2 separate regions of the Homo sapiens genome follow, and region 2 is linked to region 1. Evidence: promoter capture Hi-C in 16 types of primary human blood cells and fetal thymus (Javierre and others, 2016). All regions are on one chromosome and are shown on one strand. The core of a region is centred on a gene start or on the middle of the fragment in contact, and the rest is flanking DNA. Distances in the headings are between cores, read along the strand shown.

What was found. The method cuts DNA at HindIII sites, captures the fragments that hold promoters and counts their contacts. A CHiCAGO score of 5 or more calls a contact.
Region 2: a contact is called between a fragment that was not itself captured here and the fragment with the promoter of MSANTD4 in region 1, in 1 of 17 cell types (non-activated CD4 T cells). The highest score is 7.4, in non-activated CD4 T cells.

What each region holds. Positions count from the first base shown.
Region 1 is chr11:106,019,992-106,024,740 of GRCh38, reverse strand. MSANTD4 (Myb/SANT DNA binding domain containing 4 with coiled-coils) reads left to right here and starts at 2,501. Exons shown (of 3, transcript NM_032424.3): 1 at 2,501-3,779. RefSeq lists enhancers at 1,960-2,029, 2,860-2,979 and a silencer at 2,420-2,529. The HindIII fragment of the contact is 3,155 bases long and covers 552-3,706 here.
Region 2 is chr11:105,037,222-105,041,970 of GRCh38, reverse strand. CARD16 (caspase recruitment domain family member 16) reads left to right here. Exons shown (of 4, transcript NM_052889.4): 4 at 252-408. Among named protein-coding and RNA genes, the nearest start is that of CASP1, 4.5 kb to the right of the region's middle. The HindIII fragment of the contact is 3,609 bases long and covers 319-3,927 here.

The sequences.
Region 1 (4,749 bases), core at 1,252-3,751:
AATTATTAGTGAGATATTTATTTTTTTCATGCTAAATCTTGGAATCCTGCATATATTTTACACTTACAGCACATCTCAATTCAGACACTATTTTTAAATCAGAAATACTTGATCTATATTTAGATTTCAAAAAGTTTACAATTGAAAAAGTATACACATAACCCAAATTTTCCAAATAGAAGTATCTAGTAACTTGAATCAAATATCAGTTTTTAAATTAAAGTTAATTAAAATTAATAAAATTAAAATTCAGTTATTTGGTTGTACTAGCCACATTCCAATGACTCATCTGGCTATCACAGTTGGACAGCACAGTTGTAAAGTAAGTGTGTAAGTATCTTTGGGTCAAATCTCTAGCCTGGACTTAAGAAAAATTAAATCAGCAAACAGGTTGATCATGGAGTACTGATAGTACACATTATGGATTACCTTCAAATTCTTCATTGTTGGTCCATATCCACTCAGACAAGATGTAGCTGAGAGGAAATAGTGAGGGTATTTGGAAAAGATACTTCAATTAGCAAAGAGACTGAGGTTAATTGGGGAAAGCTTAGAGTTCATGATACGAAAGCAAAAGTTTGTTAATACTGATTCACCATTCTTGTCCCCATTACTGAGGTAAATAAACAGAGTCAAGTGGTGGACAGGTTCTGAACAGAACTGATAGTGTCTGGTTATGATGGGGATAGCTAGTTATCTTACTTTCTCACTGCACTCATCAAAAAAACACCACCCACCATGAACAAAATCCAAAATTATAAAATACAACTTGTATTTTTCCAAAAATTACAAGTTTCTTTTGATCTACTTTGGCAAAAGTATAGACATGCTTCTTTGACAAACATGTCTATACTTACTGACAAAGTCATAAGTAACAATCTGTAAGATCAATCTGATCATTACATTTTAAAGAGCATATTTCATAATTACTTCCTATTTTATGGGAGAGTTCCTCCAAGAATATCCAGCAAGGATGCACCATTCCTCCAGAATATTCCACCATTTATTTACCAAATCTTTTTTGTCTGTTACATTCTAGGCACTGTGTTATTCACAACAGTAAACAAGAAAAGCCCCACCCACATAAAATATGTGGGAAGTGCTGTCAGAGGAAAGGCCGTGATGAGAGCTCGCTGAAGTAGGCTTGCAGATTTAGTAAACAAAAATTTTTATTTTTTTAAATTTAGCAAATAAACATATGGATACCAAATATTCCATTGGACAGATTAAAAATTATTTGCTTTTTATCTGAACTTCAAATTTAACTGAGCGTCCTGTTTTTATCTGGCAAACCTACAGGGAAGGGAATACTTGGAAGTGGAGGGAGGGTGAATGGAGATAATTTTGGAAGCCTTCCTTTAGAAAGGAATTTCTAAAAATGAATGCTAGGCATAGCGGAGAAGCAGGGAGGAAACACAGCAATGCAAACTGACTTCCCAGTAGCCACTGTAGAGTTCAGGAACTGAAAGAAGCAAAGGGAATGGGGTAAGGAAGAAGAAATGTGGGTATAATGTCGAGAGATGAAGGTTGAGGGAAAAGTAGGTGCCTTATTTTTCAGGTTCGATAAGGAGTTTGTACTGTATCACCAGTGGTGAGATTCCACTAAAAAACTTTAAGCAGCTCATTTTGGCTACAACGTGAAGAATGAACTACAGTCCGGCAGACAGGATGTTGGGAGACCAGCTAGGAGGCTACTGATGGAATTCAGGTGAGTCCACAGAGGCCTGGACAGAGGCAGCGGGAAGAAAGGTGCACTAATCACAAACACCTGAACGTGAGACGGCAGAAAATAAGCAACTGCAAACTTGAATATAGAGGAGGACTGGGAGAGAAGAAAGCAGAAGCACATATTTGGGGAAACAGTGAAGAATGGTAAAAAAAAAAAAAAAAAAAAAAAAAAATTCAAATGTCTTCTGGGAAGTATATAGTATGATAAGGACTAAGAAGTGACTCCTAGATTTAGCCATAAGGAAGTCACCAGCGACCTTTGGCACGGGCAGCCTTAGAGGAATGGCTGAGGCCAATTAGGTCGCAGCTGGTCGAGGAGAAGGTGATGCTGGCCTAAGAACCCGACTGGAGCAGCACAAGTTTCCTACTTCTTCTTTGCCCTTTTAACAGGTGAGGGTCAAGGACAAGAGACGAGTTTGGAGATGCAGCGGCCAGTGCCCCAATCAGTTGGAACAGCGCAGCAAGCGGATCTCTAGGGGCCAATCCCTTCCTAGAGTCCACTTGACTGACAGAGCTGCGCGCCACAGACGGGGCACAGACAGGGAGGTGAATCACGAGGGGGCGGAATTCCAGGGCACTAACCCGGAACCGGTTTGGGACTTGATTCCCATTGTGAGGCCAGGCCTAGGGCGGGCTCTCAGCCAGAATGGCTACACCATTCTAACCAATGGATGAGACTCATCAAATGAGCGGCAGCCATATGAGCCATTGGGGTGGCGGGAGATGGGCGGGCCCAGTTAGTGGGCGGGGGATCAATGAAGCATCTTTTTTCCTACCCCCCTTGGGGCGACCGTGGGGAGGTGCCGCCGGGGTCGCAGGTGAGCGGTTCTATGCTGGAGGAGGCGGCCAGGGAAGCGGCGGCTCCGTGACCAGTGGGTGCCCTCGCAGTGGGTAGGGTCCCGGAGGGGTCAGCGGCAATTGGCGCAACGCTTGCTGCCGGGTTTGGTCCAAGGGCTGCGACGTAGCGGGACTGCACGCTCGGGAGAAGTGCCACGCGCGTCTGTCGCCTGACCGGGGAGGCTGGGGAGGGCCCAGGCCACGGAAACAAGACTGCAGAAGTTTCTGGGCACTCAGTCGGGACTCTCATTTAATACCCAGAGAGAGGAGATCTTCCAGGTTGCCCCGACTCCCACCGGGACTCCTACCAGCAGCAACCTCATCATTGTGGCCGAGGCAGGTGCGCGCCCCTGCTCCCCTGGGTGGCCTTCCGGGAGCCCAGTCTAACTCGATTCTTCCCAGGGGCTCTTTTTGGACGGTCCCAAAGGAGGCAGCGGGAGGGAGGTGAAAGATACTTTGATAACCGTCGACCCATAAGTATACTTGTTATGCACCTACCACGAGTTTTAGAGAAGAACATACTTTTTGGCAGGGAAGTGAATCCCCTATAAGAATATAGGGGAGGGGAAAGCCACACTTTAAAGAGAATTTGGGTAGGGTTTGATATTGTAGATTTGTGATGCTTTTCTTCTTGAACTGCTTAACTAATTTACCCTCAAATTTTTTTGATCCGGAACTTGCCGTCTGGTTTTTCTCAGACTTCTTAATTCTGACTTATCATGAAGTATCTAGGAACTTCATTCTCAAGTTTTAGTGCTTGTAAAAAGTTGCCTGGTTATATTATGCCATTGGCAGTACATCATCTTCACAAGGATTACGTAAGTGAACTACATCTCATTCCTGTTTCCAACTAGTGAAGAACGATTGTGAAATGGGATTTTAGAAAATGGCTGTTCTCTGTGATTGGGCATAGAAGGTTTGTAAGTTTTAGAGACTGCAGCTGTTGAATCCTTTCTGCTAAGAGAGCGATGACAGGCAATAGAAAAGGGATAGTGTTTGACATCTAAAATGACATATTTTCACATTTTATGAGGTGTTATATCCCCAGCACCAAAAATAGTGCCTTTCACACAGTAGGAGCTCAGTAAGTATTTTTTGAGGAAATTATTGGGGAATGAATGGATGGTAGAAAACCCAAGCTTCTGTTACTTGGATACCGGCATATAAAGGAGAGGACAGGAAGACAAACATTTCTGGAAATGGCTTTTATCCAGGTAAGCATATCTACAGAACTTCAACAACTCAAGATGCATCAATGCTGGCACTTTCTTGCACTTAATCAGAAAATATCAAGGTTTTAGAAGAAGATTTTCACACAATTAAGCCAAGACTGGGTATCTAAGGTGCATCCCAATATCAATTTCAGTCAGGTTAAAAATGTATTAAAGCCCATTTGATTAAATGAAATAGTTCATCAGTTCAGAATAGATCAGTCAGGACAACGGGATACCACTTTGTAAGTTAGAGATATGGAGTTAGGAATTGTTGGTCAAAAATAGGCCCTGCAAATAGCAACAGCTGCTGTCAAACTTTAAAAATATATTGACTCAGTGGTACTTCAAAAGGACTGCTATTTCTACCATGTACCAATACATTTACAACAATGCGATTTCTAAATTGATCTCAGATTCTAAGAGCAAAATCTTACGGTGGATATCTGCATAAATTTGGACTCTCGACAACTTCAATCATTTTTATTATATACTTATATTGGTTATATATTTATATGTTACTACAGTAACAGTTCTTCCATATTAATGGTAGCCTGCTTGAATTTCAAAAAACTTTCACAGTTATATTTGTCTCTTTCAGTTCATTTTTAGCAAATAATAGTCTTATTAAGCCAGAATTCGCTTAGTAAGATTTGCTGCTTGGCACTATCCTAATTTTCCAGCTTTAATTCCTGATACTTCTTTCTTTTATTTCTGTCCCTCATTAGTCTGTTTTATAAGACCCAAATCAAATGCTGATTCTGACTCAAAACATTCCTTGATCCCATCAAAGATTTGTCTTTCTTATGAATATCCAGAGTATTTTGTTAGTATTTCTTTATTGTAGTTTTTGTATATTTGCATTATTCATCCAGTGAAGAAATATTTGTTAATTACATTCAGATACTGTACTGGGCAATGGATAATAGCTGACATTTGTGGGCTTACTATGTCTTAGGCATGATAAACTTCT
Region 2 (4,749 bases), core at 874-3,373, 980 kb after region 1:
TCTGTTTTTATCTAAGATGCTTGTAGAAATACTTATGCTCAAATATGAAAGTAGATCCTCCCTGTAATGCATACCTAGAAATCTCTGGCTTGAAATGTGCTCCATTAGCAGCAAACGCACTCAACTATGTTAATGACTAGATTAGGATTGTCCTCTAGGAATGTATTTCCTCTTTTGTAGCTTCCTCCATAGGTGAGGCTATAAGAACAAAGAGGGATACCACTGTTCATGATATTCCTTGTCTCTTGCAGCTCTTCAGGCAGTGCAGGACAACCCAGCTATGCCCACATGCTCAAGCCCAGAAGGCAGAATCAAGCTTTGCTTTCTAGAAGACGCTCAAAGGATATGGAAACAAAAGTTGCAGAGGTGCCATGTTCAGAATACAATAATAAAGTGGAGTGAAAGATATACTTCAGGCAGTTTTGAAATGCAGTGGCTTTTTCTTAGAACCAATTTTATTGAGCGGTTCTGGAGGAACATACTTCTGCTCCCCTTGCATAAAGGATCTCTATATCCTAGAATCCCAGGTTTAGGTAAAGAGTTGCAAACTGGAACTCATAAATTATCATAGTCTTCACCCAGTCTGTCTCTTAGAATTTATTTCCCACTGACACAAACAAGCCATTTTGTCTGCTTGTATAACCCAGATTTTCCAGTGTAGTGCCCAGTTGGAAAAAAGCACATCCCATTGAGCAAGTATTGAAGTGGACTCTTGCTTCTCACCCAATTCTCCAACTTGTGTTTACCAAGAATTGGAGTCAGTTTTTTACCTGTTGTTCCTATTCATAAAATGAAATTAATGTTTATTTAACATATTGAAATGAAGCATATGAATAATTTAGAAGCACTTTACCAAAAAGTACATTTTAACATTACCTTGCTTCTGGGCTATAGCTTATGACTACTATAAATGAGAGGTATAGTGGCATGCTCTCTACACCAGGCATTGCATCTTAGAAGGTAAGAATGATAATGAGGCCCCTCCTATACATGAGAACACGGAGGATGGGAGATGTTAAATAACTTGGTTAAGATCTACAGCTCATAAATAGAAGTTGACCCTAGGGCTATTAGATGCCAAAGTCCACACTGATAAACCGGGCAGAAAGAAAGAGGCTTTTAGACAAAGAAAAAATAAAATAACATGTAATAGTTGATTAGTGCTCTAAGTTGTATTACACAAAATGTGCTGATAGTCCAAAAATATAACTAAGAAGAGTTGGATAAACTGAAAGTGTCCATGAACTTCTAAGGCTTGGAAATGGGATGGCCAAAACCCAAGCACAGAATTGTCTGCCTTCTATGTCAGAGATTTTTACAGTACCTACTCTGTCATTTAAAATTATATTGTTTCCCAGACTTCACACTGACAGGATTTTATAACATTATGCACATTTAAAATATTACTTATAATAGAATTGTTACATTCATTTATTTTGAGATGATTTTACCTTTGTAATTCTATTTTCCAAGTACACATTTAAGTCAACAATTTGGTTCCTATAAATTATATCCACTCTGTCTACAATTCCCCATCCAACTTGGGTGGTTGGTAATTACAACTCAGTCACTATAAGAACAACTTCCTCTTACCAAAATTTTTACAAATTTGTGGAGTGTGTCCAGCCAGAAATCAACAAAAAAATATATATTATTACAACCACTGACCATTTTCGCTTCAAAATTTTAATGTTATTTTTGTATAATTTACGTCAAAGAAAATGTACTCCTTTTAAGAATACAAGTTGATAACTAATGATACATGGCTATTCTAGTATAATAACATCCTAGTGAATAGGCAAACCGATTTTGTCACCCCAGAAAGTTTTGTCACGCCCATTGTTATCAATCTCCTTCCACTTCCTCCTCAGATAAGTAGTCATCGAATTTCTATCACTGTACGTTAGTTTTTCCTAATCTAGAACTTTATATAATTGGAATCACAGGGTATGTGTTCCTTCCTATATGGCTTCTTTCACTCATAATTGAAACATATTTTTTTCATCCATGTTATTGCATATATTAGTAATTTTTCCCTTTCATGACTGAATAGCATTTCAGTGTACATGTATAGCACAAATTGTTATTTTATGCTCTGGAATTGGATATTTATTTGTTTCCAGTTTTTGACATCTTCATTTTTGAGGAAACAGTGGGCCCTTGCAATCTAGTGGCTCAGTGTTTAGCTTTCCATGACATGAGACTCAAGGCTTATGGTTCTACATTCCCAGATATATGGTCTAGTCATGGCTTCTGTTTCTGGGATGTCACTCTGACATGCTTCAACTCAGTGGTTCATGGCTCTGGCTGTGGGCGAAACCCTCATGTGAAATACTTTAGTTAATAGAAAAAAAATTGAATCATTTAAAAGTACATGATGGGAAGATAAGTAATACACAGGCAATTTCTGCTTTCTTCCATGCTACAAATCCTCCCAGTGGCAAGGAGCACAAGTTTGTGCTGCCATCGGATTAAGTCATTGGCAAAGTAAAGATAAAACACCATGAGAGGTTGGGCATGGTGGCTCACATCTATAATCCCAGCACTTTGGGAGGCCAAGGTGGCCAGATTACGAGGTCAGGAGTTTGAGACCAGTCTGGTGAACATAGTGAAACCCCATCTCTAGTAAAAATACAAAAAATTAGCCAGGTGTGGTGGTGCCTGTAATTCCAGCTACTTGGGAGGCTGAGGCAGGAGAATCACATGAACCCGGGAGGCGGAGATGGCACCATTGCACTCCAGTGGGGTGACAGTGCGAGACTCTGTCAAAAAATAAAAAATAAAAAAAAAAAACGATGTCCTCCTACACAGTGAGTTCTAGTCAAACCCAAACACATTTAACCCTTCACCTAGAGCACAGAAAATAAAACTGGTAGCCCACATGTCAAAAGGTGGATGTTTTTCTAACTCTGGGTCTTTAATCTCCAAAAATATTAAGGTAACAAATCAGGAGAATTTTTGGTAAAGAATTTGATAAACGTAACATACCGTGTGCATTTTGCAATTAGCCCACCTTTCATCAAATAGATTTATAAAATAAATTAGCCACATTGAGTTTGTTTCTGGGATAAGCAATTGAACATGTGATTGCAAAGGCAGAGACCTTTTCTGGCCTTCCCTGGCTCCTCTGTCTAAAGTTCATGAGTCCTGCAATATTTTGTCTCCTACTTTGCCAATTTTTTTTTTATCATTCTCATCACTTGCTACATTTGAACAGTCTGAATATTCCAGTTACATATTACATACCAGGTGTATTAGTCTGTTCTCATGCTGCTAATAAAGACATACCCAAGACTGGGTATTTATAAAGAAAAAAAGAGGTTTAATGGGCTCATAGTTCCACATGGCTGGGGAAGCCTCACAATCATGGTGGAAGGCAAAAGAGGAGCAAGGACACATCTTCCATGGAAGCAGACAAAAAGGCATGTGCAGGGGAACTCCCCTTTATGAAGCCATCAGATCTCATGAGACTTTTTCACTATCATGAGAACAACATGGGAAAAACCCACCTCCATGATTCAATTACCTCCCACCAGGTGCCTCCCATGACACCAGGGGATTATTACAATTTAAGGTGAGGTTTTGGTGGGGACACAGAGCCAAACTCTGTCATTCTGCCCCTGGCCTCTCCTAAATGTCATGTGCTCACATTTCAAAACCAATCCTGCCTTCCAACTGTTCCTCAAAGTCTTCACTCATTCCAGCATTAACCCAAAAGTCCAAGTCCAAAGTCTTCTCTAAGACAAGGCAAGTCCCTTCCACCTATGAGCCTGTAAAATCAAAAGCAAGTTAGTTACTTCCTAGATACAACGGGGATACAGGCATTGGGTAAATACACCCATTCCAAATGGGAGAAATTGGCCAAAGGAAGGGGCTACATTCCCCATGCGAGTCCAATATCCAGTAGGGCAGCCAAATCTTAAAGCTTCAAAATGATCTTTGACTCCATGTCTCATATCTCGGTCATGCTGATGCAAGAGTCGGGGTCCCATGGCCTTGGGCAGCTCCACCCTCGTGGCTTTGCAGTGTACAGCATCCCTCCTAGCTGCTTTCATGGGTTGGCATTGAGTGCCTGAGTATTCCAGGTGCATGGTGCAAGCCGTTTGTGGATCTACCATTTTAGGATCTGGAGGATGGTGGCCCTTTTCTCATGGCTCCACTAGGCAGTGCCCCAGTGAGGACTCTGTGTGGGAGCTCACACCCCACATTTCCCTTCTGCATTGCCCTAGTAGAAGTTCTTCATGAGGGTCCCACCCCTGCAGCAAACTTCTGCCTGGACATACAAGCATTTCCATACATCCTCTGAAATCTAGACAGAGGTTCCCAAACCTCAATTCTTGACTTCTGTGCCCCTACAGGCTCCACACCACATGGAAGCTGCCAAGGCTTGGGGCTTGCACCCTTTGAAGTCACAGCCCAAGCTATTTCTTGGCCCCTTTTAGCCATGGCTTCAGTGGCCCGGGAAGAAGGGCACTAAGCCTTTAGGCTGCATACAGCAGAAGGGCCCTCGGCTTACCTCATGAAAACATTTTTTTCCCTCTTAGGTCTCCAGTCCTGTGATAGGAGGGGCTGCCTGGAAGGTCTCTGACATACTCTGGAGACATATTCCCCATTGTCTTGGAGATTAATGTCTTAGAGATTAACATTTGGCTCCTCGTTACTTCTGCAAATTTCTACAGTTGGCTTGAATTTCTCCTTAGAAAGTGGGTTTTGCTTTCCCAGCACATCATCTGGCTGCGAATGTTTCAA